Linked DNA regions of Homo sapiens: region 1 is linked to region 2. Evidence: promoter capture Hi-C in 16 types of primary human blood cells and fetal thymus (Javierre and others, 2016). All regions are on one chromosome and are shown on one strand. The core of a region is centred on a gene start or on the middle of the fragment in contact, and the rest is flanking DNA. Distances in the headings are between cores, read along the strand shown. Region 1 overlaps CTSO (cathepsin O). Region 2 holds the start of FNIP2 (folliculin interacting protein 2).

Evidence for each region. Contacts are between HindIII fragments. The CHiCAGO score rates a contact against its expected background, and 5 or more counts as called.
Region 1: a fragment that was not itself captured here is called in contact with the fragment with the promoter of FNIP2 in region 2 in 1 of 17 cell types (non-activated CD4 T cells); the score reaches 5.9 in non-activated CD4 T cells.

What each region holds. Positions count from the first base shown.
Region 1 is chr4:155,945,708-155,948,407 of GRCh38, forward strand. The region is part of intron 1 of CTSO (cathepsin O); the gene reads right to left. Among named protein-coding and RNA genes, the nearest start is that of CTSO, 6.8 kb to the right of the region's middle. The HindIII fragment of the contact is 6,081 bases long and covers 1-2,700 here.
Region 2 is chr4:158,767,378-158,770,353 of GRCh38, forward strand. It overlaps FNIP2 (folliculin interacting protein 2), which reads left to right and starts at 1,649. Exons shown (of 17, transcript NM_020840.3): 1 at 1,649-1,942. The coding sequence starts at 1,836. RefSeq lists a silencer at 1,390-1,599 and an enhancer at 1,557-2,294. The HindIII fragment of the contact is 6,862 bases long and covers 1-2,976 here.

The DNA of each region.
Region 1 (2,700 bases), core at 1-2,500, 2.8 Mb before region 2:
TACATACCAGTATCCCTCATAAATACGCTGTAGACACAAAATCCTTAACAAAATAGCAAATCAAATCTAACAATATATGTTAAGGACAATATATTGTGACCAAGTGAAGTTTATTTAGAAATGCTAGGTTGGTTTAAAATTTCAAAATCAATCATCAGTACGATACACCATATTAACAGAACAAAAAAGGAATATACCACACACACACCACACCACACCAAATGCGCACACACACACATACGCACGCACATGAGGTATAGACTGGTACGCCCTTTCAAGATCCTTAAAATTACACAAATTGTTTAATTAAGAAAATCTAATTCTAGGAATGGATTTTAGACTCTTGAGTGTAGGCAATGCTGTACGTGTGGGTTCTACACGTGTGTCTGGGAGGGGAGGCAGTAGTTGAGCCACATACTCTATTTAGTTGGAGAGCTAATGCAAGTTTATCTCACTAGATCATTTGTGACATCTACGAGAGAAACAATATATTGCCACTCAAGTTGGCAAATGCCAGATGAAACAAACTTATACATCGTTGGCAGGGAGTTCCCATGTACTTCTCTTAATTTTTGTGTTGCCTTATAAGTGTCATTTCACCATCCAAAGTTTAGGTGTTCCGGTTGTGAAGTAGTTATAATAACACCAATTTAATAATGAAATAAATGAATGTATTATTTATTTATTTTAAATATTTATGTCCCTAATTTTCAATGATGATTCCAATAACAGTTACTTGGTTTTGGTCTTGTGCCATGTGTTTGAAAAGACAAATATCTCCACATATATTTTCTATTTGTTACCACTTGATACACTGTTCTTTATGTCAGCGGCACTAGTGTCTGCAGGACTTCTGAAAATGTTGCTGTCTTCCACTTGTTCAACCAGGAGCCAACTTCTAAAAGAATTCCATTTGCTATTCTGGTGTAATGACTCCTGTCATTTCACAGCTCTCCATAGCCCATGTCAGGGCTACTCAATCTTTATACAAATTGTTGACTTCCTGCCAACAGCAAAATACTCTAAACCACTAAGTGCTCTGCTTCGTCCTCTCCCTACCACTAATCTCTACCCACTTGTTTTGATTTTGCAAAACCATTAATAACATTAAAAGTACTTCCTTGGAGGCTTCTGAACACAGCGTAATAATAATAATTATTATTATTTTGAGGCGGATTCTCGCTCTGTCGCCCAGGCGAGTGCAGTGGCGTGATCTCAGCTCACTGCAAGCTCCGCCTCCCGGGTTCACCCCATTCTCCTGCCTCAGCCTCCCGAGTAGCTGGGACTACGGGCACCCGCCACAATGCCCGGCTAATTTTTTTTGTATTTTTTTTAGTAGAGATGAGGTTTCACCGTGTTAGCCAGGATGGTCTCAATCTCCTGACCTCGTGGTCTGCCCGCCTCAGCCTCTCAGAGTGCTGGGATCACAGGCATGAGCCACTGCGCCTGGCCTCTTTTTAACTTTGCAACAATTTGAAATGTCTTACCATTGCTGTGCAATTTTTGGCTATATAATCAACCTCTCTGAGCTTTATTTCCATCAACAAATGGAGTAATACTGATCTGGAAGAATGTAAGGATGAAATAAAATAATAATTGGAAAACACTTATTACAGAGACTGGCAAAATAAATGCTCAGTTAAAATACTCTCATCCTCTATCTTCCTTTTCCTTTAAACAGAGTATTTGGATTATAGAAATGGCGCTCAAAGACCATACTTTCAGATTCACTTGGAGCAAGTATTTCTCATGTCATTAGAAATGAGGATCAATATTATCTATTGAAAGCAATCTGTTGCTTTCATGGTAAAATAATACTATCAGTATATCCAAGAATATCTATTCTCTTATTTATTTATTGTCTTGTTTGCTATACACTTATCAAGTTCACTAACATGGGTTTCACATCATTTAAAATTTAAAAAGCCCTGTATTTCATTTCTTGAATTATCAATTCTTTTAAGTGACTTTTCCGGTCTCTCTTGATTCTGGCTATTAAAGATTTCATAGACGCATCACAAACTGAAGTCTGTATGAGGCCCTTGCTGCTCATTACATCCAACAACCTCCGTTAGGTAAAGGATCAGTGGGCACATGTTCTCAACAGAGGATATGATAGGGAGCAAATTTAGAGTAGCCATCTCTAAAGTCATATAAAATATTAAAGAAAAGACCTGAACCTTAACTTCATTTATGAGAGGAAAGACGTAAAGTTTTGATGAATACATAGGAAACTTCTCATTGATACTTTTGAAAAGTGCAGATGTTTAAAAATTAGATCTTACATGAGAAAAATTAGAGCTGATAAATCAGAACAGCCTTGGTGAACAGATTTGGTGAAAAATAACTACCTTCACCTTTTTTTTGTTGTTGTTGTTAAATGTGTTTAATTGAATGAGTTACAAAGGGAGATACCAGATTCCTGAACAGAAGGGTAACTCAGAACCCAAGAGATTGAAGAAATTATCCTGATTATAAAACTAGGAAAAACATGTCCCTTGGGCATTAGTACGTCTTGTGCATACTAAGTCTCTATTTATTATAGGTATAACCTCTCAAATTCATACCTAGGACCCTGTCCCTGTAAGACTCTGTCCCTAAAGCTATCCTTATTATGACTTCTAGCAGCCATCCTTCTAAGAGGTAGAATCTCTTAAAGCTGCCTTTGTGTGTGTGTGTGTGTGTGTGTGTGCACATGTG
Region 2 (2,976 bases), core at 399-2,898:
TGCAGTTACAAAAGCTGCTAGGCTCATGAGGAACATGCAGATTTTAGTCTGGAGAATAAAGGACATTTTCTGACCAAGGATGGAGTAAGGAAAGGTGGTGAGTTGCTGGCCACAGTATGACCTGGGACTGTATCTGAAAGTCACAACGTATAAAGCCAATACCTTCTATATAGCATCCTGACCAACACTGGCAGCCCTATGAGGTAAAGGCCTTCAGCAAACAGAAATAGCAAAGTTGCAAATTAGGGTTCTGTGTACACTCAATTGTGCAAAAGGATGATTGCTCATCAGGATAAACACTTAATCCACCATTTTAACAGTAAAAGTCCGAAGGAAACAAATGACTAAGTTTCCATTTCTACCACCTTTCTCTTACCTTTGTGAAATTTCAGCACATTATTCACAGCTAGTTCCCAACCAAGTCCAGAAACTAACACAATTAAAAAAAGAAAATGCAAAGTAAAATAGGCCCAGAATAGGTTCTTTTGATTACTTATGTTTTTGGAAATATATTTTCCTTTTTGAGTCTCCAAGAGTCCTCCTCTCAACAAGTGTAAGAGAGCCCAGGTGAGTCACTGTTCACTACTCATGGAGAAGCTAGAAGAGGCATGGTTGGGGTCTTACTAACTTTATCTCTATTTCCCATCATCGGAAAAATTCGTGAAGCCCAACGCTCTAAAACATAGATTAAGAAGTTGCTTTGAGTCTGGTAACGTGTCCTACACTGGCTGTTTAGAGCCCTGCACCACCAAGGATTAAATTCCAAAGGGGACTGGGGTGGGACAGGGCAGGAAAGCGGACTCAAACACATGAACTCCTCCCTTCCTCAAACCAAATATCTGCTGCTGATATGCCTTGATTGACTGTTAAATATGTATTAGGAAAAACAATCCCTTGCTATAAAATATCTTAAGTTTCTAAATCTATGTAGTGAGTTCTGTGTGTGTGTGTGTGTGTGTGTGTGTGTGTGTGTGTGTATGTTTTAAAGGGGGGACTTAATATTTCAAATGCAACTTCTTATATAACCATGGTATGGTGGCCCAAGACGCCAAACAGAACAAATGATTTGGATAAACAGTTTAAATTTTGTGAAAGCCTGGAGGAATCGAATTTGGACATGGAGGAAACCTGACAAAACCTTGGGTGCTATGTGATTCAAATCACAGCCCACCGAAGCGGCCACCGCGCGTACCAAGCCTTCCCCCCTAGCATACGCCTTCTGTGAACGGGCTCTTGTACCTGAACAAAGCGAGGACCCAAGTTCAGGGGCTTTGTCTCTAAAGAACAAAGATCGGCCTAGCTGCATGCTCGCTGTGCGAAAGAACCCAGGCTCCGTGGGAACCCCACGCCACTCGCGGAGCTGCGCCCCGGCGGCCGCCCTCGCCCCTCGGGCCCCTTTAAGTGCCGCGCCTGCCCCCGTCCGCGTCCCCCGCGTGCCCGGAGTACTGGGCCGCCCGCCCGCTCCTGGCCGCACCTCCCACCTCCCGCCTCCCGCCGGGGTTACGTGAGCCCGGGGCGGGCGGCCGCCGGGCCAATGGCCGCCGCCGGGGCCGCCGCGCTCCTCCCGCGCCGCCGCCGCCGCCGTGGGGCTGCGGGCTCCTCCCGCAGGAGATAACTGTCAGCGCGCGAGGCGGTGGCGGGCCGGCTCAGTCATATGACCGGCAGCCGGCGGCTCCGGCGCCGAGCAGAGTTACTCAGTCGCAGCGGCCCCGCGCTCCCGCAAGGCTGGGCGGCCGCGCCGCCGCGATGGCCCCGCCACCGCGGCCGCCGCCCCCGGCTGCGCGCTGAGCCGCCGGCCCCCCGAGCGCCACGGCCGGAGCTGCGGCGGCGGCATCATGGCCCCGACCCTGCTCCAGAAGCTCTTCAACAAAAGGGGCAGCAGCGGCAGCTCCGCGGCGGCGTCTGCCCAGGGCAGGGCTCCTAAGGAAGGACCCGCCTTTAGGTGAGGGGGCGCCGGGGGGCAATTCTGGCGCGGGACCCGAGTTGGCTTCGGTGCTCGCCGGGGAGGGGACGGGTAGGGGAAAGGGAAGGGACTGTCCAGGACGGCGCTGCCTATCGCCGGCACCTGGTCCCGGGCTTGTCAGCGTGGACGCGCCTGATCCGAGTGTGGCTCCGGACCCTCCGTGACCCTTCCTCCCGCTCTTTCTCCACAACTCAGGGTCCTTCCCCATTTCAGAGTTCTCTTGTGTTCCTTGGGGTTCCCGGGCGTGCGCTGTGCTTGGCTGTGGCGACCGGAGATTCTCCGGTTATTGGGGTGAACCCCTTCCGGGCAGAGCCGCCTGGGCACCTCTGCGGGCCCAGCAAAGCTGTGAGCTGTCATTTTGAGGGCAGCTCCAACCTATTGTGTACGTGACAGTGTTTTGAAGTTCTGAAGGAGCAACAGTCACGAAAAAGGCATCTTTCTTCTTTCTTGCCATATATGACAAGCTCTCAAACGGATGAATGAAAGTATGTAATTTCCACATCATGTGGAAGGTTGATGCCGCATGATGTGTGGAAAGGGGGAGTAAGATGCAATTATGAAATTTCCGAGATTTCAATTGATCAAAGCTGATATGTATATTTAATAGATTTGATCTCTCGAACACATACCTTTGAATATTGATAGCATTTATGGAGAGCTTACTACCTAAAATGCTTTATGTTGATTTCTGTCGTTTACTTTTCTGACAATGCGGTGAGGTGGGTGCTATTATAATTCCCATTTTACAGGTGAGGAAACTTAAAGTCACAGATAACTTAGGCGGCTTGCCCAAAATCCAGCTGTCAGTGGTAGAGCCTGTGTTTTGACCCAAGCAGTTTGACCACAGATTCCAGTCTTTAAAATCCCTATGCTATTCTGATTTCAAGGGCTAACTTTTAAAAGACGCCTTAAAATGTCCTATATTGCCTTTGAGCACAGGTATGTTGAGAAGTTTATTTAACAATTTTTCAACACATTTTAAAATTGAGCACCAACTCCCAATTCTGACACTA